Regions from separate parts of the Homo sapiens genome. Here regions 1, 2, 3, 4, 6 and 7 are each linked to region 5. Evidence: promoter capture Hi-C in 16 types of primary human blood cells and fetal thymus (Javierre and others, 2016). All regions are on one chromosome and are shown on one strand. The core of a region is centred on a gene start or on the middle of the fragment in contact, and the rest is flanking DNA. Distances in the headings are between cores, read along the strand shown. Region 1 has its middle 64 kb from the start of TRAK1. Region 2 has its middle 34 kb from the start of TRAK1. Region 3 has its middle 32 kb from the start of ULK4. Region 4 overlaps TRAK1 (trafficking kinesin protein 1). Region 5 holds the start of ZNF620 (zinc finger protein 620). Region 6 has its middle 9.7 kb from the start of TRAK1. Region 7 overlaps ULK4 (unc-51 like kinase 4).

What was found. The method cuts DNA at HindIII sites, captures the fragments that hold promoters and counts their contacts. A CHiCAGO score of 5 or more calls a contact.
Region 1: a contact is called between a fragment that was not itself captured here and the fragment with the promoter of ZNF620 in region 5, in 6 of 17 cell types (activated CD4 T cells, naive CD8 T cells, total B cells and 3 more). The highest score is 9.0, in activated CD4 T cells.
Region 2: a fragment that was not itself captured here is called in contact with the fragment with the promoter of ZNF620 in region 5 in 1 of 17 cell types (fetal thymus); the score reaches 5.1 in fetal thymus.
Region 3: a fragment that was not itself captured here is called in contact with the fragment with the promoter of ZNF620 in region 5 in 1 of 17 cell types (total CD4 T cells); the score reaches 5.4 in total CD4 T cells.
Region 4: a fragment that was not itself captured here is called in contact with the fragment with the promoter of ZNF620 in region 5 in 2 of 17 cell types (M0 macrophages and total CD4 T cells); the score reaches 6.3 in M0 macrophages.
Region 6: a contact is called between a fragment that was not itself captured here and the fragment with the promoter of ZNF620 in region 5, in 3 of 17 cell types (activated CD4 T cells, total CD8 T cells and naive B cells). The highest score is 8.2, in activated CD4 T cells.
Region 7: a fragment that was not itself captured here is called in contact with the fragment with the promoter of ZNF620 in region 5 in 2 of 17 cell types (non-activated CD4 T cells and naive CD4 T cells); the score reaches 6.3 in non-activated CD4 T cells.

What each region holds. Positions count from the first base shown.
Region 1 is chr3:42,025,788-42,028,928 of GRCh38, forward strand. It overlaps a transcript of TRAK1 not described here. Among named protein-coding and RNA genes, the nearest start is that of TRAK1, 64 kb to the right of the region's middle. The HindIII fragment of the contact is 195 bases long and covers 1,252-1,446 here.
Region 2 is chr3:42,055,890-42,059,124 of GRCh38, forward strand. It overlaps a transcript of TRAK1 not described here. Among named protein-coding and RNA genes, the nearest start is that of TRAK1, 34 kb to the right of the region's middle. RefSeq lists an enhancer at 1,634-1,743. The HindIII fragment of the contact is 4,315 bases long and covers 1-3,235 here.
Region 3 is chr3:41,992,997-41,996,006 of GRCh38, forward strand. No RefSeq gene overlaps it. Among named protein-coding and RNA genes, the nearest start is that of ULK4, 32 kb to the left of the region's middle. The HindIII fragment of the contact is 8,427 bases long and covers 1-3,010 here.
Region 4 is chr3:42,095,932-42,099,067 of GRCh38, forward strand. All of the region lies in intron 1 of TRAK1 (trafficking kinesin protein 1), which reads left to right. Among named protein-coding and RNA genes, the nearest start is that of TRAK1, 6.1 kb to the left of the region's middle. RefSeq lists an enhancer at 2,185-3,007. The HindIII fragment of the contact is 1,218 bases long and covers 1,130-2,347 here.
Region 5 is chr3:40,504,553-40,507,805 of GRCh38, forward strand. ZNF620 (zinc finger protein 620) reads left to right here and starts at 1,487. Exons shown (of 5, transcript NM_175888.4): 1 at 1,487-1,586; 2 at 1,752-1,824. The coding sequence starts at 1,801. The HindIII fragment of the contact is 1,073 bases long and covers 415-1,487 here.
Region 6 is chr3:42,079,987-42,083,330 of GRCh38, forward strand. It overlaps a transcript of TRAK1 not described here. Among named protein-coding and RNA genes, the nearest start is that of TRAK1, 9.7 kb to the right of the region's middle. The HindIII fragment of the contact is 181 bases long and covers 1,413-1,593 here.
Region 7 is chr3:41,948,324-41,951,703 of GRCh38, forward strand. All of the region lies in intron 2 of ULK4 (unc-51 like kinase 4), which reads right to left. Among named protein-coding and RNA genes, the nearest start is that of ULK4, 12 kb to the right of the region's middle. The HindIII fragment of the contact is 2,606 bases long and covers 513-3,118 here.

The sequences.
Region 1 (3,141 bases), core at 99-2,598, 1.5 Mb after region 5:
GACACCAGCTGTGCTATTATTAGGGCTTTTAAAGTCCGTGGCAGATGTTCTTAGGCGGTGTTCCAGCCTTGTTCACTTCCCACATATGGCATGATACTGTACACAGAAAAAAGAGGGACTCTTTAACAAATAGCTTTTCCATGAAATGCATCACTATTTTTTTCCCATGAACTTTTTTCTTTTCTTTCTTCCTCTGTCTCTGTTTCTTTGTTTCTCTCTCTGCTGTTTGTTCTTTCTTCTTTCTCCGTTTATCTTTCTCCCTCTGTCTCTTTCTTGCTTTCCTCTATTTTTCTGTATTCTCATTCTCCCTGTCTCTCCCTCCATCCCTCCTTTCTATACTTCCTTCTTTTGTCCTTTGAGGCCCTTTTTATTTAATCCTTTGTGAAACTAGAAGAGGACTCAGAGGCACATGAAGAAAGTTTGTCTATTTTAGATTAAAAGTGAGCCTTAGCATTTCATAGAAAGTATAAGAAATGTGGGTAAGTCTCAGGGTGATCATATACTAGAGAATTTTTTTGACAAGAGCCTGTTTTGAATTGCGTGGTTAGCTTGCTGCCTCTTCACTCCTCTGGCACAGTGGTAGTTTTTGTACAGGATCGCTTTTACCTCAATGGACTGATAAGCTAGCCAGGGCACCGATTATTTTTACATACCAATTTGTGTGTTGTTTGTTTGGCTAATCACCTCTTCTGCAGCTGTTATCCTGGATCTCAGTGATCAAAGAGATCAGTGATCTCTTTTTTTTTTTTTTTTTTGAGACAGAGTCTCACTCTGTTGCCCAGGCTAGAGTGCAGTGGCATGATCTCAGCTCACTGCAACCTCTGCCTCCCAGGTTCAAGTGATTCTCCTGCCTCAGCCTCCCGAGTAGCTGAGACTACAGGCACGTGCCACCACGCCTGGCTAATTTTTGTATTTTTAGTAGAGATGGAATTTCACCATGTTGGCCAGGCTGGTCTTGAACTCCCGACCTCAGGTGATCTGCCTGCCTCGGCCTCCCAAAGTGCTGGGATTACAGGCGTGAGCCACTGCGCCTGGCCAGTGATCAACTTTTGTCAGTAAGCTTCCATGTGTAGACCCTCCTTCTCCCCTCATATTTATAGTAACCCATGTCTTAGCTTGGAGTTATAGGGTATAATCAATATCAAATTTACTTAAATAACTGCTCTGGTAGACTGACTTTCTACAGGAAATGGGCTCTTATGTGAATGTAACCTCAATGTATACTCTTTAATAAAATCTCAGAATGATGCAAGCTTCATTATAGTTGTTTCCTACTGTTTATTTCAAATTTGATATTTTGATATATTTACACTAATTTTATAGCTAAGCACAAAATTAATTACCCCATCATTTTTATTTCAAAAATAATGAGATAATATGTGCATACATTAGTGGCATATCTTACTCTAATAATGGCCACAACTGTCAGAAGTACATTTTCAGAAAAGCTTTTTGGCCGGGCGTGGTGGCTCACGCCTGTAATCCCAGCACTTTGGGAGGCCGAGACGGGCGGATCACGAGGTCAGGAGATCGAGACCATCTTGGCTAACATAGTGAAACCCCGTCTCTACTAAAAATACAAAAAATTAGCCAGGTGTGGTGGCGGGCACCTATAGTCCCAGCTACTCGGGAGGCTGAGGCAGGAGAATGGCGTTAACCCGGGAGGTGGAGCTTGCAGTGAGCCCAGATCACGCCACTGCCCTCTAGCCTGGGAGACAGAGCAAGACTCCATCTGAAAAAAAAAAAAAGTAAAGCTTTTCTAATCCAGGCGTTTTTCTTCAAAATAAAGTAAATATATCTATTTTCAAAAAGTACTTTTGTATTTTAAACATTATTTAGTTGTAGAAAATATTTTTTAAAAAGCCCCAAACCTAAACTATACAGTGAGGCCAGTATGAGAATAGAGGTACTGAAATGGGTAACTAATTATTTATTAATATGTTTATTTCCCTGCGAATTCAGAGACTGGGAAAGAAAACCAGGAACAACCATTTTTCACTTCTCTAATTTTATCTGAAGGAGGGGAATCATAAAGTAGGAAGCCTTTTATCTCAATGGCAGACTCTGTTATTTTTTTTTGAGATGGAGTTTCGCTCTCGTTGCCCAGGTTGGAGTGCAGTGGTGCGATCTTGGCTCACTGCAACCTCCGCCTCCTGAGTTCAAGCCATTCTTGTGCCTTAGCCTCCTGAGTAGCTGGGATTATAGGCGCCAGCTATCATGCCCAGCTGATTTTTTGTATTTTTAGTAGAGACGGGGTTTCATCATGTTGGCCAGGCTGGTCTCAAACTCCCGACCTCAGGTGATCCACCTGCCTTGGCCTCCCAAAGTGCTGGGATTACAGGCATGAGCCACCACCCCCGGCCACAGCCTCTGTTCTTACAAACTAGTGGATACAGGTGCCGGAACACCAGGCCGTGGGCCACGTGTTTACATGCTGCTCCCCAGTAGAGTTGCTGAGTGGTTTATGTTTATTCCGGAAATACATGGTTCACTCTGATTTTACAGGTCTTCCGCAGGTAAGAATCACCTTTGATTAGAGTCAGGGGATTCCTGGCAGAATGGGGAGCTGGAGACCCACTTAGATCAGTGATTGCTAAGTGTGAGCTGTGTGGCTTCCCTGGGCCAGGCACTGAGTTATGACAGTAAATGAGACAGTCCAGGTCTGGGGGCAGACCAAAGAGACCCAATGTAGTAATAGATGTAGGATATGATACCAGGTAGTGACTAGGGGAGAGAATGAGGTGGCAGCAGAGGTGTCTTTAGGGAGGTTATAGGTGAGCAGAGATTGAATGGGGATTGAGCCATGGGAACATATGGAGGAAAAGCTTCCCAGGCAGAGCAAACAGCAAGTGCAGAGGCCTTGGTGAGAAGGCCAGTGTGGCTGCAGTGCAGGGGACCCTGGGGATAGTGGACGTGGATGAAGCCAGGAGATAGTCAGGGGACGGCTGCATCCCACTGGCCTGCTGGCTGTTGTAAGGAGTGGGTATTTTAATCTGCATATGATTGGGAACTACTGGAGGATTCTGAGTATGGAGGAAGCTGCAGGGGAGTGACAAGAATTGATTGATTTTTAGATGATTTATTTATGAGACGGTATGTTAGTCTATTCTCACATGGCTATAAATAAATACCTAGGATTGG
Region 2 (3,235 bases), core at 364-2,863, 1.6 Mb after region 5:
ACTTTCCTCTTTTGGACATTTGTTATACATGGAATCATACAATATGTAGTCCTTTGTGACTGGCTTTTTTCACTTAGCATAACGTTTTCAGAGTTCACCCATGTTGTAGTAGGTATCAGTACTTCATTCCTTATTATTGCTGTATAATATTCCATTGTTATGTATTTTTAATATTTAGTTTATCCTTTCATTAGTTGGTAAACTTTTGGATTATTTCCACTTTTTGGCTATTGTGAATAATGTTGCTGTGAACATCTGTAGACTTTTTTTTATTGTGGACATTTGTTTTCATTTCTTTATGTTGATACCTATGAGAGGAATTGCTAGATCATGTGGTAACTCTGTATTTAACATTTTGATAAATTGCCAGACTGTTTTCCAAAGTGGCTGCGCTATTTTACATTCCCACCAGCAGTGAGTGAGGGTTCTGGTTTGTCCATGTCCTTGCCAATGCTTGTTATTATCTGTCTTTTTGATTATAGAAATCCTTGTGGGTATGAAGTGGTATCTCATTATGGTTTTGATTTGCATTTTCCTGATGGTTAATGATGTTGAGCATTTTTTCATGTGCTTGTTGACTTTTGAAATTATTATTGAAATAATTATTGGATAACAGATGTTAAAAACATTTCAACAGAAGCAGAAATATTTTATATAATTGATTTTAAAATTATATTGAGCAAAGTTATTAGCTGATTATTAAAGAGATTATTTTACCCTGGAGAATTATTAGAAATTTTGAAATTAAAAACATTCTTTTGTTTACCCAGAAATCTAGAAGAAAGGTTAAAATTTCCACTTTTTAATATTGTCCCAAGTGCAACATAAAAGTATGCATTTTTCATATCTTAACCTTTAAATGTATGCCATGTTAGGATACAATATTGAGTGCTTGTATATTTTTGAATTCACAGTCCTTTTTTCTGCCCCGATTGTAATAATAGGCTATTCTACATCCTTCTTAATACCTTTTAGCTCAACATTTCTATTTCCAATATTAGGATTTTAAAAATAAAAATCTTGTGTGAGAGACAAAGTAAAGTACCAAAATTGCCTCAGTTAGAGGAGCCAGTTTTCTGTGGATTTGAACCAACCTGTAACCTGAGCCGTGCACAGCTGCCATGAATAGAACAGGGACCTGGTGAAGGGCACCTTCTGCCACTTTGGCCGATTGAGATCCAGCAACCTCCTGGCTGGCAGTGATCATGAAGATGGGAACTAGGACACTGGTGCATTTTAAGGTGCAGTAATTAAAGGCACTCTAAATTACTCTTTGCTGTTTAGACCACCTGGGCTGTCCAGTGCTACTTTGGATACCAAGGAAAATGGAATATTCTTATGTAAATATGGATGGACCATGAGCTCCTGGAGGGCTGGAATCCAGTTTTGTGCAATTGTTTTCTCCACAAAGACTGACAGTAGGTTCACGGTCCTGCTTCTTGAATGAAGGAAGAAGGGAAGGAATGAAGGGTGAATGATGGGAGTAACAGAAATTGATTGCCAATTCACATCCATCTCTGCCACACTTTCTTCTTTCCTAATAGAATCCAGATTTCATTCCATTCTTAAGCCTCCTTTGCAGCATGCTGGAGTAGGGGTTGAGGAGGCGTCCAGTGGGTATTGATTGGTCCAGGCCAATCACAGTGGCCCCATTCCCTTTGCTGTAGTTGTGACTGGGCCGATTGGGATCAGAACAAGTGGGCTGCAGTTTCCTGGGGAGGTTTTGTTATGTTTGCTGGTGATGCTGTATCTGCTGCTCTCATCTTGTGATCTGAGGAGAACCTGCTGGAAGGCGAGCACTGACCTGCTGTGTGTGGCCAAGCAGAAAGGGAGCAGACGAACTTAGATTCTGGGGTTGGCTCTGTCTCATTTGCATCTTGGGCAGGCCACATGTCTCTCCTCCATCAAGTGTCCTGTAACCTGGAGAACTCACCCTGGTTCACCTGACACGTGGCCCACACCATGTTAATCAGTTTGTGCTTTTATTCTTAAGTATTTGAAGGAACCAGAAAATACAACCAACTGAAAGGCGTTTTCATTTTAAATGCCTGTAAACCTGAACATGTCATTCAGTGAGCTTCCTTGTAAAGCTGAACTCAAATATCATTTCCTCCTTTACTGCTACCCAGGTTTGCCCTTCGCCCCTTGGTTGGGTTATTTTTGCCACCTTTAAGCTCTTCTGGTTTGGCTGCTGCTTCTCTTACTGCTCTGCCACAGTGGGCATTTCATTGGGAAGTGAGACTTGTGGCCGGCTTCTGGGTAAAATACTCCTTGGAACCTCCTCATCTTTAAAATATAGATAATACTCATGTACCTTGGCAGTTGTGGAGATTGACGAAGACAAGGTTTGTTTGTAAGTATGCTTTTGCCTTTAAATTTCATTTTATCATGTTCATCTTTATTATGATAACTGAGGACTGGAGGGAACCTTTATTTTTAAATTTAATTTAATTTATTTATTTTTTGAGACAGAGTCTCACTCTTGTTGCCCAGGCTGGAGTGCAGTGGTGTGATCTCAGCTCACTGCAACCTCTGCCTCCCGGGTTCAAGCAATTCTCCTGCCTCAGCCTCCCCAGTAGCTGGGATTACAGGCGCCCCCGCCACAACGCCCAGCTTATTTTTTAATGTATTTTTGGTAGAGACGAGGTTTCACCATGTTGGCTGGTCTGGTCTTGAACACCTGACCTTGGACGATCTGCCTGCCTCGGCCTCTCAAAGTGCTGGGATTACAGGCATGAGCCACCATGCCTGGCCTGGAGGGAACCTTTAAAGTCAACCTGTCCTACCTCCTGGCTGATGCAGGGATCTCCCTTTAATGTCCATTGTGGGCCTTGCCCATTGTTTGGTGGCCCATTTGAATTGTTGCGCTGAGCTCCCACCCCCACACACAACAGATCGTAAGATACGCCATTGCTTTATGTACCTCTAAGAAAGCAAAAAATGCTACAAAGTAAGCATAGTAAAGGACGATTGGCTATAAGACAAAATTCAATTTTAGAGATATTGAAATGTGAAAAAATGTGTATCTTAAGAGATTTACTCTTTACCATCTGCTCTGTGCTGCAATTTTTTTAAAGATAAAGTGCTAATTTACTGAATTTAAAATAAATCCAGGTGTGTATGCATGCGTGTATATATTTGTATGTATATGTATACACACAAATATACATACGTATGATATAAGTAGGCTTTGGACTTCAGGGAACTTTTTTTTTTTCCTTTTGAGACAGGGTCT
Region 3 (3,010 bases), core at 205-2,704, 1.5 Mb after region 5:
TTGAGACGGAGTTTCGCTCTATCGCCCAGGCTGGAATGCAGTGGCGTGATCTCGGCTCACTGCAAGCTCCATCTCCCGGGTTCACACCATTCTCCTGCCTCAGCCTCCCAAGTGGCTGGGACTACATGCACCCGCCACCATGCCCGGCTAATTGTTTTGTATTTTTAGTAGAGATGGGGTTTCAGTGTGATAGCCAGGATGGTCTTGATCTCCTGACCTTGTGATCCACCTGCCTCGGCCTCCCAAAATGCTGGGATTACAGGTGTGATCCACCACTCCCGGTCTCAAGCCTTCTCTTTCTAAAGGAGAATTTAACCTTTTAATATTTACTATAACCATTGATAACTCATTGGCCTTATTCTTGTCATATTTCATGTTTTGACTATATTATGCTTTATCAGTTTCTCCTCTATTGATTTAGGTGTCCTATAACAATTTCAGTTAACACCTAATATCTAAAAAAATTATATTTCTCCATAAAAACTATACACAGCACAGGATGAAACCTACATTTATTTATTTATTTATTTATTTATTTAGTTAGTTAGTTAGTTAGTTAGTTAGTTAGTTATAGAGGTTCTTGCTCTGTTACCCAGGCTGGAGTTCAGTGGCACAATCATAGCTCACTGTAGCCTCGACCTCCAGGCCTCAATCGATCCTCCCATCTCGGCCTCCCGAGTAGCTGGGACTATAGGTACGCACCACCACACCTGGCTAATTTTTGTATTTTTGGTAGAGACAGGGTTTTGCCATGTTGCCCAGGCCGGTCTCGAACTCCTGGCCTCAAGTGATCTGTCCGCCTTGGCCTCCCAAAGTGCTGGGATTGCAAGCATGAGCCTCCACGCCCGGGTGAAACCTCTCAATTTACCTCGTTTCTCCATCCTCTTCCTTCTCCTATGACTTCCCAGATTTTGTAGAAATAGCATATTTTAACTTGAAATTATATTTACTTTTTATACTTAAACATTTCTTTAGTAACCAATTCATTAACTATCTTCATCATATTACAAATTATTTAAACTTTTTCTTTTAAAAATATTTAACCACTATACTATGAGGAACAAATTATTTAAACTTTATTTTATTTTATTTTATTTTATTTTTTGAGATGGAGTCTCCTTCTGTTGCCCAGGCTGGAGTGCAATGGCATGATCTTGGCTCACTGCAGCCTCTGCCTCCCGGGTTCAAGTGATTCTCTCACCTCTGCCTCTGGAGTAGCTGGTACTACAGGCATGTGCCACCACGCCCAGCTAATTTTTACATTTTTAGTAGAGACAGAGTTTCACCATGTTGGTCAGGCTGGTCTCAAACCCCTGACCTCAAGTGATCCATCAGCCTTGACCTCCCAAAGTGCTGGGATTACAGGTGTGAGCCACCATGCCTGGCCAAATTATTTAAACTTTAAATCATACTGGTTTCAATGTTTATCACTATTTTTAAAATAAACCTTTTATATTAGAATAATTTTAGATTCACAGAAAAATTAAAAAGATAATACAAATTGTCTCCATATGCCCCACGCCCAGTTTCCCCTACTATTAACCTCTTACATTAGTATGGTACATTTGTCATAATTAATGAACATATACTGATGCTTGTTATTAATGATAGTCCTCATTTTGTTCATATTTACTTAGTTGTTACTGAATGTCCTTTTTCTGTTCCAGGATCCCATCCAGGATACCCCATTACATTTAATCATCTTGTCTCTTTGGGTTCTGCCTCTGACAGTCTTTCATACTTTCCTAGTTTCTGATGACCTTTCAATTTTGAGAATTGCTGATCAGGTATTTTTAGACTGTCACTTAATTGGTATTTGTCTGATCTTTTTCTCATAACCAGACTGGGGCTATTGGTTTTGGGGAGGAGGAGCATGGAGATAAAGGAGATAAAGTGCCATTCCCATCACATACTACTAAGGGAACATACTATTGGCATGACTTATTACTGTTGAGTCAATCTTGATCACCTCACTGCCTGAGGAAGTGTTTGTCAACTGTCTCCACTGTGAAGGTACTCTTTTTTTGTTTGTTTGTTTTTGAAACAGAGTCTCACTCTGGAGTGCAGTGGCGCAATCCCAGCTCACTGCAACCTTCATCTCCCGGGATCAAGTGATTCTCCTGTCTTCTGCCTCAGCCTCCCGAGTAGCTGGGACTACAGGTGTGCACCACCATACCCGGCTAATTTTTGTATTTTTAGCAGAGACAGGGTTTTGCCATGTTGGCCAGGCTGGTCTCGAACGCCTGACCTCAGGTGATCTGCCCACCTTGGCCTCCCAAAGTGCTGGGATTACAGGCATGAGCCACGATGCCCAAGCCATACTGTACTCTTTTGAAGGAAGTCACTAAGCACAGCCCACACAGACAGAGTGGGAGTTATGCTCCATCTGTTAGAAGTGGAGTTCTACATACTTTATTTGGAATTCTTCTGTATGGGAGATTTTTTTTCTTCTTCCCCATGTATTTATTCATTTATGTATTTATGTCAACATGGATTCATGGATATTTATTTTGTACTTTGAGTTATAATCCAATACTACTTTATTTATTTTGTTGCTCAAATTCTTCCAGCTTTGGCCACTGGAAACTTTTTCAGTTGACTCCCATGCCCCTTTGACATAAACCCCATGATTGTGGGTTTAGTTTTTGTTTTAGTATGTCTTTACTTCCTGGCATTACAAGATACTCCAGGTTCATCTTGCATCACTGTGTTTTGCATGTGGTCTTTTAGCCTTTTTATTCGGATTATTATTATTATTAATTTTTATTCATTTTTTTTTGAGTCGGAGTCTCACTTGGTCACCCAGGCTGGAGTGCAGTGACACGATCTCAGCTCACTGCAACCTCTGCCTCCTGAGTTCAAGTGATTCTCCTGTCTCAGCCTCCTGAGTAGCTGGGACTATAGGCGCATGCCACCATGCCTGGCTAATTTTCGTATTTTTAGTAAAGACGGGGTTTCACCATGTTAGCCAGGATGGTCTCTACCTCTTGACCTCGTGATCTGCCCACCT
Region 4 (3,136 bases), core at 489-2,988, 1.6 Mb after region 5:
CCTGTTCTACCCTGTGAGGACAGAGTGAGAAGGTGCCATCCGTGAACCAGGAACCAAGCCCTTACCAGACATTTGGTGGTGCCTTTATCTTGGACTTGTCAGTCCCCAAAGCTGGGAGAAATAAATGTTTGTTGTTGACAAGCCACCAGTTTATGGTATTTTGCTCTAGCAGCCTGAACAGGCTAGGAAAACTCAGCAGCTCTCAGTCCTGGAATACCTAATATTTCTTTTTAGAAGAAGCATTTTGTAATTCATTTTTTTGTTACCCTTAAATGAAATTCATAGATAACGAATCCTCTTAAAAACATAATTTTATTTATTTTATTTCTATCTTTTTTTGAGATGGAGTCTTGCTCTGTTGCTCAGGCTGGAGTGTAGTAGTGTGATCTCAGCTCACTGCAACCTCTGCCTCCCGGGTTCAAGTGATTCTCCTGCCTCAGCCTCCTGAGTAGCTGGGACTATAGATGTGTGCCACTACACTCGGCTAGTTTTTTGTGTTTTTAGTAGAGATGGGGATTCGCCATGTTGGCCAGGCTGGTCTCGAACTCGTGTCCTCAAGTGATCTGCCCGCCTCGACCTCCCAAAGTGCTGGGATTACAGGCGTGAGCCACCGCGCATGGCCAAACACATAATTTTAAAAGAATCAGTATAATGCCTTACCGTACTATAAAGGAGAAACTAAAGAAAAATGACATAGCTTGTATTTCAAATGTCGCTGAGGGGACGTGGCCTCATTAGAACACATAATGAGCAATTAGGCCCTGCCCCTGCAGGTAGAATTGCTGTGAAGGGGGCAGCCACAAAGGCAGTGAAGCATGCTGGCTACTCAAGGGTCCAAGACAGAACCACTGCAGCAGCCCCCATTGATGGGTGCTGTAAGTTGTTTTCAGTTCTTGCATTTTAAATGGTGCCTCAAGCACCATTCCTACTCACTCTTAGAAGCATTGGCTTAAACAGTGTGCAACAAGAAAAATGCATACAGTTTAAAGAATACACTTTGAGGTTTTCCACCTTCATCTTATTCCCAGACCTCTGCCTTTCCTCCCAAGGGAATGACTGTTGCTTATCTTTCCAAAAATGTTCTGTGCATGCGTTTGTATGGTATGTATGTCCCCTCCCCTGCTTTGAAAGCTTTCTACACACGGGAACATATACTAAACATATTGTTGCCTTTTCTCCTCAGTAATCTATATTGGAGACCTTTCCACTTAGCATACATCCATCATATTCTTTTTGCTGGCTGCCTATTTTTCATTGTCTATAAATCCCACGATTGATTTAATTAATTCCCTATTGTAAGACAAGTAGATTGTTTCCAGTATTCTGCAAATACCACTGGGTTGGGGATAGCCATGTTCCCACATATTTAAACAAATAAGTAATGAATGTACTTGTGTGAATTCCTAGGCTGGGGACTGTAATTTGATGGAGTGAGTCATAGAGGTTGTATATGGTGTGTGTTCAGACGATGTGGGAGAAGTGTGTGGGCGCTCACTGTCTGCACCCCTGGTATGAGCACATTTGCTCTTTGCCAGCTGAGGTGTATAAACGGCAGCAGCCCCTGATCTTGATTTACGTTCCTCAGTGTGTAGAGGCTGAGCATTTTCGGTATTTCCTGGAGGAATTTTTATTGTCTTTTCTGTGATCTGAGATAAATGCTTAACAGTTTCTACTTTTAGCTCATGGAGTGATTGCCTCCAAAATTCTAATTACTATTTATATCCTATTTTTATACTTTCCTTTCCATCCCTCATGTAGCACATCACTGCCTGGTAGGCTTGGATTTCGAATTCTGGATTTTGAATACCATGCGGCACCTGCTGGGCGTACCTGAACTTTATATCAAGGACTCACCACACAGTTTATGATTTGAGTTTTTAAATTTCCCAGACATCTGCCTTAGAAAACAGACCAAACACATACTGATAGGTTGGTCCATCAGAGTGTGCTCTGGGAAGGGTTGTGGAGGTCTCACCTTGTAAACTGCTGTGATACTGACAACTATGTGAACACCAGGGTCCAGTGATGTTTCTATTTCCGGAGGAGTATCTTGGAGGACCTTTAAGTTTTCCTTTCCTCCCTTCGTTTCATTTTTTTTCTTCTCACCCTCTTCTCTCCTCCATCTCTCCTTACCCACTTTCTGTCTGTTTCCTCTCCCCTCCCCTCCTCCTCACCCTGATATCTGTCCTTCCCCTTGCTGTCTCCTTTCTTCTCTTCCTCCATCCCCACTCCCCTCCTTTCTCTGCTTCTCTCCACCTCCTCTTCCTTGAAGAAACAATGGCTTTCTTTTTTTTTCTTTTTAATAATTATACAGCTGAGGTGGATCTAGGTTGGTGACGCCTTTAGAAGCTTTGCAGCATTCAGTAGAGCTTCTTAAGTACAGGCAGCAGGCACTTCACGGGTCGTACTGGGTTAATGTTCTTTTGTGCTTTTCCAGCACATGGAGGAAGGGAGGTTGGGCCTGTGGTCAACTGACCCTTTCCCAGTTGAGTCTGCAGGTTGTGAGTGTGCAGTAAGTCTTTTGAATTATTAGCTGGAGTTAAATGGGAAGGAAGAGGTGAGGATATCAATAACGTGAAGCAGGAAGGCTGAAGACCGTGAGTTCTGTGGAGGGAACCTGACCTGCGGGAGAGAGGGAGGGAGAAAGAGAACAGAGAGCTCCAGCCAGCTCACCCTTTGGGGTGACTGGAAGCTGCCTAGAAGGTGGTTTTGCCCTAATTTACAAATTTACTGCCCTTTTGAGGCCTTATCTGGTCCAGGCTCACTTCCTACTCTGCTACCTTCTATCATGGTGTTGGAAAAGAAGGAGCGCCTAGCAGGGTGGGCCTTTTGAGCATGGGAGTCCACAGTGTACCCCTTGGAGCCCAGTTGCAGGGAGAGCAAGATGGACAGGTGGTTTCATCCAGAATTGGGTTTTGCTGTATGGGTGCCGTGAAAGTCCCACGAGAGTGAGGGAGGCCGAGCCTTAGGCACCAGCGTTGCTGGAGCCAAAGGGCTGGGGGATTCCAGCTGGACAGGAAGTGGGCGGTAGAGGCCATGCAGAGGAATTGAGGGGCTGGGGGTCTCCATGGAATAGCGGGGATAACTGAGGGAGAGCTGTGGGGGAAGGGGGTTGCAGTCAGGGAGGGGGTATCTA
Region 5 (3,253 bases), core at 237-2,736:
GGAAATCTAATTATTTAAAACAAGTGCTGTGCATAAACTTTAAAGTGAAAATACTATAGATTTTATAAAATGAACTGTTTCTGTGACAGTTAAAATCTCTGTGCTAGGTGGCCCCACAATGGCTCCCAATGGTTCTCATATCCTGGCATTCAAACCTTGTGTATCTCTTCCCACACTGAATCATGACTAATCTGAGGAGAATGTATTGAGGAAATCATGATGCATGATTTCCAAAACTAGGTCATAAAAGCTTTGGCCTTGGCCTCTTGGATTGCTCACTTTGGGAGAAAGCTACATGCCATGTTGTGAAAACCCTCACATGGGAAGGAACTGACGCTTCCTGCCAACAACCAGCACCCACTTGACAGCCATGTGAGTAAACCACCTTGGAGGTGGATCCTCCAAACTCAGTCAAGCTTCAGATGACTTCAGCCCCACATGACACCTGACTGCAACCTCAGCAGAGACCCTCAGCCAGTACCACCCAGCCAAGCTGCTCTTGAATTCTGGGTCCACAGAAACTGTCAAAAGATAACAATGTTTATTGTTTTTAGCCACAAAGCATTAGAGTAGTTTATTATCCAGCAGTAGATACATAATATACTCTCCATGGCAGGACTTGTTTTGAAAGTGGTGGATAAATCTAATTCCTGTGGAAGGAATAACTAAAATCTGTTTCCAGGCTGGGCCGGGACACACATCCCAGTACAGGGCAGGAAAGGGCTCTAAGCCAAATGTTAATAGCTCTTTCGCTAAACTTCGAAAATTGTCCTTAAAAAAATCTATTTCCCTAAAGCACGCCACATATTGGAGTCCCAGCAGCACCTATTTTGTGTCTTCAAAAAACACAATTGGAAAACAAAACAATACAAACTCACGAGTACATACTATGTGCCAGGCACAACTGTAAATAATTTACCTATCAATTAACTAATTTAATGAATTAACCCTGAACAGCCTCAAGAGGTTGGTACCACCATCATAATACCCATTTAATAGACAAGGAAACCGGGGCAAAGAAACTTGCTGCAGGTCACACAACTAGCAAGTGGTGCAGCTGGGTTTCTGGACCTACGTAGTCCATACACATTCGGCCTTCTGAGTAATGGGTTCGCCTTTCCCCACACCCACTTTTCCCACTGCAGCGCACCCACACAATCCAGACAGTTTTGGCGCATGTGAAGGGCGCGATGGTCCCTTCATTATCTGGAAGGACACCCAGAGTGGCAAATGCCAGATAACCACGAATAATACCCAGGATAGTAACCATTCTGTGGCCTGAGCTGGCCAGACGTCATGCCCCGAAGGAGCTACCAGGTGTGGGCGCTGCAGGACCCCTGCCTGGGGCCGCCCGCTCGGGCCCGTGTTGTCTCAGGCAGTAGGGACACTGGCGCTGACGGCGGGGGTAGGAAACCACAGAGACTGGCAACTTCCCAGGTTCCTAGAGAGGAGGGGCATGGAAAACGCACTTCCGGCGGAGGGTCTCAAGCTTTCCCCGGTGTCGGCGGCAGGTGGAATTTCCACGCTTTATCTGCGCCTGCGCCGCGCGGGATTCGCGGTCCGAGCTGAAGAGGTTCGCGGTCCGGGTAACTGATTGGTTTTCCTGGGGCTTGTTCTGCCTGGTTTTGCAACCCCTTTGCTTTTTGGGGTGAGGAGTTGGCGGAAAGGAGAGGGGCCCAAGTAGCACAGAGGGCATTTGCGGGGTGCGAGGCAGCATCAATCTCACCGGTGCTTCTTTATTTTCTCTTCAGTTTCACTTCTCCGAACCCTGAGGCAGTGTGTGAAGCTGGGACGCCAGCCATGTTCCAGACCGCTTGGCGCCAGGTGAGTGAGCATCCTCTCCCTCCCTCCCACCCTTTAGATGTCAAGAGAGAGCAGGTGTCACCTCTGCATTCAGATCTTGAGTTGTGTAGGCCAGTGGCTTCCATTGTGCATCTGTCACTATGAGAGGGATGGAGAGGTGAGAATGCCCAAATTAAGACTAGAAAACTAGTGAGTGTGGGGGGATTGGTTGGGATTTGGCATTTGAAGCCAGCTTAAAAATAAAAATTATGAAATGTGGAAATCTGCATTATTACATCCAATAAAGACCCCTTTCACCCTAGTCCGCAGGCTTGGAGAAGTACTTACTTCTTCAGTATAGCAATTCTAGTAACTGTTTTGTAGATTCCATTGTATTTTCTACATAGGTCATCTATGAGTAAAGATAGTTTTACTCCTTTCTTTCCAGTCTGGATGCCTTTTATTTTATTTTGTCTTGCCTTACTGCACTGGCTAGAAGCATTATTTCAATATTGAACAGAAGTGGTGAGAGCAGATATCTTTGTCTTATTTATGCTTTTAAAGTGAAAGCATTCAATCTTTCACACTGAAGACTGATGTTCACTGTAGGTTTCTTGCTTTTTTGTTTTGTTTTGTTTTGTAAATGTCCTTTATCAGGCATTCTCTTCTAGTACTACTTTGGTGAGAGTTTTTATAGGAATGGATGTTGGATTTTGACAATTGCTTTTTCTGTGTCTATTTAGATGACCATATGGTTTTTTTTTTTTTTTTTTTTTGAGATGGAGTCTTGCTCTATCGACAGGCTGGAGTGCAGTGGCGCGATCCTGGTTCACTGCACCCTCCACCTCTGGGGTTCAAGCGATTCTCCTGCCTCAGCCTCCCGAGTAGCTGGGACTACAAGCACGCGCCACCACACCCAGCTAATTTTTGTATTTTTAGTAGAGACCAGGTTTCACCATGTTGGCCAGGATGGTCTCGATCCCTTGACCTCGTGATTCCCCCACCTTGGCTTCCCAAAGTGCTGGGATTACAGGCGTGAGCCACCGTGCCCAGCCTCTCTTTGTTAATGTGGTGAATTACATGATTTTTCTTTCAAATATTAAACCAACTCTGCGGTGGGATAAAACCGACTTCGTCATGGTGTATTATTATTTTATTAGTACTATATATTGAATTTAATTTGTTAAAATTTTATTTAGAATTTCTGTATCTATGTTTATGAGGTATTGATTTGCAGTTTTCTTTTCTTGTGATGTCTTTGTTCCATAGAATGAGAAATATTCCCTCCTCTTTAATATTTTGGAAGAATTTATGTAGAGTTGACTGCATTTCTTCCTTAAATGTTTGGTAGAATTCAACAGTGAAGCTATCTAGGCATGGGGTTTTCTTTCTGATAAGGTTTTTAAGTACAGTTTTGAGTCCTTTGGTAGATACAGGGGCTACTCTGGTTATCTCTTTTTATTTATTTATT
Region 6 (3,344 bases), core at 253-2,752, 1.6 Mb after region 5:
GTACTTCCTGGAGTGGTATAGCTGGAAGGCAGTGTGTTGAAGGTTGCTCGATCCCTTCCTTGTCCAGATGAGGGGTCTGAGGCCCAGGGACATAACACAGTTTCCTCAGTGTCACACAGCTTTGAGTTTTAGTTAAGGTTCTGAGTCACAGAAATGACATCGGTTGAGGGTAGCGGGGAGAAAATATTAGGAACTTGCACACGTGTATTTTGTCAGCAAATTTGAGTTCAGTAGCAAACTGGCATAACGTTGAACAACCGTGCGTTAAGTACTCTTGACAAACTGGGGGCCGGAATTGTTGATCATTGAGTTGAGAAGAGTGGGGCAGGGGACCTGGGCCACCCACCCCAGGCTCAGCTTCCATGTATACTTTATCCTACTACTATTCCTGGCACCTCTTTTGCTGAAAAATTGACCTGGTTGCAGAATTTCTCACTCCTCTGCTAAGAAAAATCCTGCCTTCCTGCAGCTCTCTAGGCAGAATTCAGTAAACTAAACAGAGGCGCTTTCATCTCTCAGGGCCATGCCATCCACTCTCACTTTTCTTAAGCCTTGTTTGTTTCCTCTGCCTGAAAGAAGCCTTTTGCCTGGTGTGCCAGGGTTTGCTGGAGCCAGAGAACATCCAGGGCAGTGGATGCTTTGTTCCTGAGCCCCTGTGAAACCTCAGAAATGCCTGTTTACATTAGAGTGAAGTTAGGCTGGCACCTTGGGGAAAGATTGTCACCTTTGCCCTACAAATTCCTGGGTGTCCCCAGAGGGCACATGCTGTGACTCATTCTTCAAGCTAGAAAGTGGGTGGAGGCCTTACAAACCAGCTTTTGAGTAGTCTGTAAATGAGGTCTCCTGATCCTTGAATTGTATCTGGGTCATTTTACATGTTTGACTATTAAACTACTCTTTTTTTTTGAGATAGGATCTCACTGTGTCACCCAGGCTGGGGTGGAGTGGCACAATCATGGCTCTCTACAGCCTCAACTTCCTGGGTTCAGGTGGTCCTCCCACCTCAACCTCCCTAGTAGCAGGGACCACAGACACATGCCACCAATCCTGGTCAATTTTTTGTATTTTTTTGTAGAGTTAGGGTTCCACCATGTTGCCCAGGCTGCTCTTGAACTCCTGGGCTCAGGCCATCCACCCGCCTGGGCCTCCCAAAGTGCTAGGATTATGGTGTGAGCCACTGGGCCTGGCCACTGTGAGCCACATTTGATGTATATTGGTCTGTGTTGAAAATGAAGTAAGGTTAAACTCGAGCCAGCCTAGAGAGCCCATGGGCTGTGGTCTGCATACTTGGAACACTTAGGAGTCCCTCAGGTGGTTTTCATTGATTTCTGTTAGTCCTCAAGGTTAGCAGTGTGAAATTTGGGAGTTTAGACCCTTTGGTTCCAGTATAAATGATAGAACCTGGGCTTTAAAGCTTCAGGGGATCCTCAGAGTCATTTGCACCAAACCCCTTCTTTCATTTGTTGTTATTTATTCTACAGACATTTACTTAGTACCTAATATGTGCCAACACCGGTCCATGCTTTCAAGGAGCACACAATTTTTTGGGGGAGATCAGCCCTGGACAAATGGTGGTCAATGGACAATGCATGAAGCTTGTGTCTGAGATAGAGAGGCATTCCCCAAAATGTACTCCATGAAACAAATGCCATGTAGATAGGTATGTGGAGAAAGGATCCATAGTAAAGTAGGTTTGGAAATGCTGGCATATGAATACTATAGTAGAACCAAGAAAGGTGCCAGATTCTGAGAATCTGGAAATTATAATGTTAATGACAGTAATTATTTTGAGAATCTAATTTGTACTAGACACAGAGGTAAGTGCCTTATATGGATAAGTGCCTTACATTTTACAGAATTCAGTAGTTTGGATGTGCCATAATTTATAACTGTTTTTCTACGAATAGAAATTTGGTTGTTTTCCACTTGAATTTACTGGGTGAAAGCTTAGTTTTGTCATTTCAAGAGGGGCCTCTCAGGCTTCTGAATAGCTTTGCCAGTTGCTGTACATGTAAAATGTTCTTTGGATTTCAGAACTGTGGCTTGTGTTTCCCTTTTGAGTCTTGAGTGAGGTGAGCATTTGCTGATGTCTCCAAATTTTGTTTTTTTCAGGAAGTGCTTATACTTAAAATATTTCTTTTGTAGCAGTATGTTTCTGGGTTAAGTGTCTGGCAGCTATAAATGGAAACATCGATACTAGGAGGAGAAACAGTAGTGATTTAGGGCTATTGATCATGATTTAGGCCATCTCCCTCATTTTATAGGTAGTGAAAGCGAAAGTTATATAAAGCTTGGTTGTAAAACCTCTTTAAGAAATCTTCACATATTAGGGCCAGGCCTGGCAGCTCACGCCTGTAATCCCAGCACCTTGGGAGGCTGAGGTGGGTGGATCACTTGAGGCCAGGAGTTTGAGACCAGCCTGGCCAACATGGTGAAACCCCGTCTTTATCAAAAATAAAAAATTAGCCTAGCGTAGTGGTGCGTGCCTGTAGTCTCAGCTACTTGGGAGACTGAGGCAGAATTGCTTGAACCTAGGAGGCCAAGGCTTCAGTGAGCCGAGATCGCGCCACTGCACTCCAGCCTGGGAGACAGAGCACAAAACCTGTCTCAAAAAACAAACAAACAAACAAACAAAAACCAGAGAAATCTTTACATATTAGAGCCTTTGTTAAAAAAAAAAACACAAAAAACCAAAATCATATTGATTTAAATGAAACTGTCTTAGTTTTCAGAAGAACAATTGCATTTTGCAAAGTGAGAAAGTATTTCCAACTTCTGTGTATGGATCAGATAGAATATGTCTAAGTACAAGTTAAAGAAGGCTTGAATGAGGGTTCAATTTGTTAATGCATTTTAAAACCTTTTCAAGACCACATTCATCATCTACTGTTTTTCTGCCTACAGCATCTTTCTATGTTGATACATTAATATCTGTTGTGATGCTTCCTCTTGGCTTGGTTGACTTGTTGATAGCTGTCGCATAATTAATGACTCGATCCTCTGTTGTGGCTTGTTAGGTTGTAGCATTTCACTGTGCCATACATCTTTGACCTATATATACTTGAGCCCGAGAGCTACAGTAAATTTTGTCAGGCTGTTCTTCCAAATGTATACTCCTCGCCTTATTCCAGTAATACATAAGACTATAAGTTTCCTAAATCACTTGTGAACTTGAGCATCGTTATATTTTTTAAATCTTTGTTGTTGTTTTTTTAAAATCACTGTGAAGTTTCCTTAAACTGGGTGTGTATGTGTGTTGTGTTTTGGCAGGGGGAGGGAATTTTTATATCCTTTGCCCATTTTTCTTTTGGGCTATCTGCTTTAGGTCTGTGAATGAAGTGCAT
Region 7 (3,380 bases), core at 566-3,065, 1.4 Mb after region 5:
ACCTGTAATCCCAGCAACTCAGGAGGCTGGGGCAGGAGAATCGCTTGAACAGGGGAGGCAGAGGTTGCAGTGAGCCAAGATCGCACCACTGCACTCCAGCCTGGACGAAAGAGTCTGGACTCTGTCTCAAAAAAAAGAAAGAGTGTTTATTAAGTGTCAGGCACTATGCTAAATATCTTATTATCTTAGTAAAAGCTAGATATGTCAACAAAATGCAAGCAAATTGAATTCAGCAGTATATTAAAAGGATTATGCACGATAACCAAGTGGGTTTATTCCTGGAAAACAAAAGATGGTTGAACATACGAAAATGTAATATACCACATTATGAAGGGGAAAAAAACGCATGATCATCTCAATTAATACAGAAAATGCACTTGGCAAAATTCAACAACCTTTAAAAAAAAAAAAAAAACTCCAAAAGCTAGGAATAGAAGGAAACTATCTCAACATAATAAAAGTCATATATGAAAAACCCAAAGCAAACAACATACTCAATGGTGAAAGAGTAAAGCTTTTCCTCTAACATTAAGAAGTAGGCAAGAATGTCTGCTTTCTCCACTTCTAGTCAAGAAGGTATAAAAAGTCCTAGCCAGAGCAATTACACAAGAAAAAAAAAGGCATCCAAATTGGAAAGGAAAAAAGTAAAATTAACTCTGTTTGCAAATGATGTGATTGATTTTATATGTAGAAAACCCTAAGGCCAGGCGTGGTGGTTCAGGCCCGTAATCCCAGCACTTTTGGAGGCCAAGGTGGGCAAATCACCTGAGGTCAGGAGTTCGAGACCAGCCTGGCCAACATGGTGAAACCCCGTCTCTACTAAAAATACAAAAAAATTAGCCAGGCGTGGTGGCAGGCACCTGAAATCGCAGCTACTCGGGAGGCTGAGGCAGGAGAATCGTTTGAACCTGGGAGGCAAAGGTTGCAGTGTGCCAAGATCACACCACTGAACTCCTGCCTGGATAGACTTTGAGACTCTGTCACACACACAGACACACACACACACACACACAAAAAGTAAAGTTTCCATAAAATAAACTGTCAAAACAAAAACAAATTTTGCAAAGTAAAATACAAAGTCCAGGTCCAACACTTAAAGATTAGCGGAATTTTTTTTTTTTTTTTTGAGACAGCATTTCACTCTTGTTGCCCAGGCTGGAGCGCAATTACACGATCTCAGCTCACTGCAACCTCTGCCTTCCAGGTTCATGCGATTCTCCTGCCTCAGCCTCCCAAGTAGCTGGGATTACAGATGCCCACCACCACACCTGGCTAATTTTTATATTTTTAGTAGAGACAGGGTTTCACCATGTTGGCCAGGCTGGTCTCGAACTCCTGACCTCAAGTGATCTGCCCCCTCCTCGGCCACTCAAAGTGCTGGGATTACAAGTGTGAGCCACCACACCTGCCTTTTTTTTTTTCTTTCTTTTTTTTTGAGACAGTGTCTCTGTCGCCCAGGCGGGAGTGCAGTGGCATGATCGCGGCTCACTGCAACCTCGACCTCCAGGGCTGAAGCAATCCTCCTGTCTCAACCTCCCAAGTAGCTGAGAGTAAAGCACACACCACTATGCCTGGCTAATTTTTCTATTTTTTCTAGAGACAAGGTTTCACCATGTTGCCCAGGCTGGTCCTGAACTTCTGGGCTCAAGTGATCTACCCACCTTGGTCTCTCAAAGTGCTGGGATTATAGGCATGAGCCACCACACCTGGCACGGTCTGATGAGTTTTGATTGATGCAGGTACTGGCAAAACTCTATTTTTATTTTTCTTTTTTTTTTTTTGAGACAAGGTCTCAGTCTGTCACTCAGGTTGGAGCACAGTGGCACAATCATGGCTCACTGCGACCCCTGCCATCCAGGCTCAAACAATCCTCCCACCTCACCTTCCCAAGCAGCTGGGACCTCAGGTGCATGCCACCACCCCCGGCTAATTTTTGAGACGGAGTCTCGCCTTGTTGCCCAGGCTGGAGTGCAGTGGTGCAATCTTGGCTCACTGCAACCTCCACCTCCTGAGTTCAAGTGATTCTCCTGCCTCAGCCTCCCAAGTAGCTGTGACTACAGGCATGTGCCACCATGCCCGGCTGATTTTTTTGTATTTTTAGTAGAGACAGGGTTTCACCGTGTTGGACAGGCTGGTCTTGAACTCCAGGCCTCAAGTGATCCGCCCACCTCAGCCTCCAAAAGTACTGGGATTACAGACATGAGCCACCGCGCCTGGCCCACTCCCAGCTAATTTTTGTATCTTTTGCAGGGACACATTTTCACCATGTTGCCCAGGCTGGTCTCAAACTCCTGAGCTCAAGCAATTCGCCTGCCTCGGTCTCTCCAAGTGCTGGGATTACAGGTGTGAGCCACAATGTCCAGGGGGAATTTCTATACATTAACAAATGTACAATCGAAAAAGGAAATCAAGAAAACAACTTCATTTATAATAGCAGCAAAAAGAATAAAACACATAGGAATTAACCAAACAGGTGGAAAGACTTACACAACAAAAACTACAAAAAACTTCTGAAAGAAATTTTTAAAAGACATAAATAGGCTGGGCACGGTGGCTCACACCTGTAATCCCAGCACTTTGGGAGGCCGAAGCGGGCAGATCACGAGGTCAGGAGATGGAGACCATCCTGGCTAACACGGTGAAACCTCATCTCTACTAAAAATACAAAAAATTAGCTGGGCATGGTGGCGGGCGCCTGTAGTCCCAGCTACTCAAGAGGCTGAGGCAGGAGAATGGCGTGAACCCCGGGAGGCGGAGCTTACAGTAAGCCGAGATTGTGTCACTGCACTCCAGCCTGGAGGACAGAGCGAGGCTTCGTCTCAAAAAAAAAAAAAAAAAAAAAAAAGACACAAATAAGTGGGAAAATATCACGTGTTTATGAATTAGAAGGCAATTTTCAGATATTAATAATTAACATTCAAATACTACCCAAAATCAATCTATCCAAAGCAATGTATGCATTCAATGCAATTCTTATCAAAATCCCAACAACTATTTTTGTGGGACTAGAAAAATCTATCCGAAAATTCATATAGAATCTCAAGGTATGTCAAACGGCCAAAACAATCTTAAAAGAAAAAAAAAAAAAAGCTGGAAAACACACACTTCCTGATTCCAAAGCTTACTACAAAGCTACAATAATAAAAACAGTATAGTACTGGCATAAAGATGGAAATATAGACCAACAGTATAGAATAAGGAGCCCAGAAATAAACCCTCACACATATGGTCAAATGACTTCCAATAAGTATTCCAAAACTATTCAATGAGGAAAGGGCAGTCTTTTCAACAAATGGTGCTGAGAAAACTGGATATCCACATGTAAAAGAGAGAAGTTGGACCTTTACTGTTGTGGTCTGAATGTGTCCCTCTAAAATTCA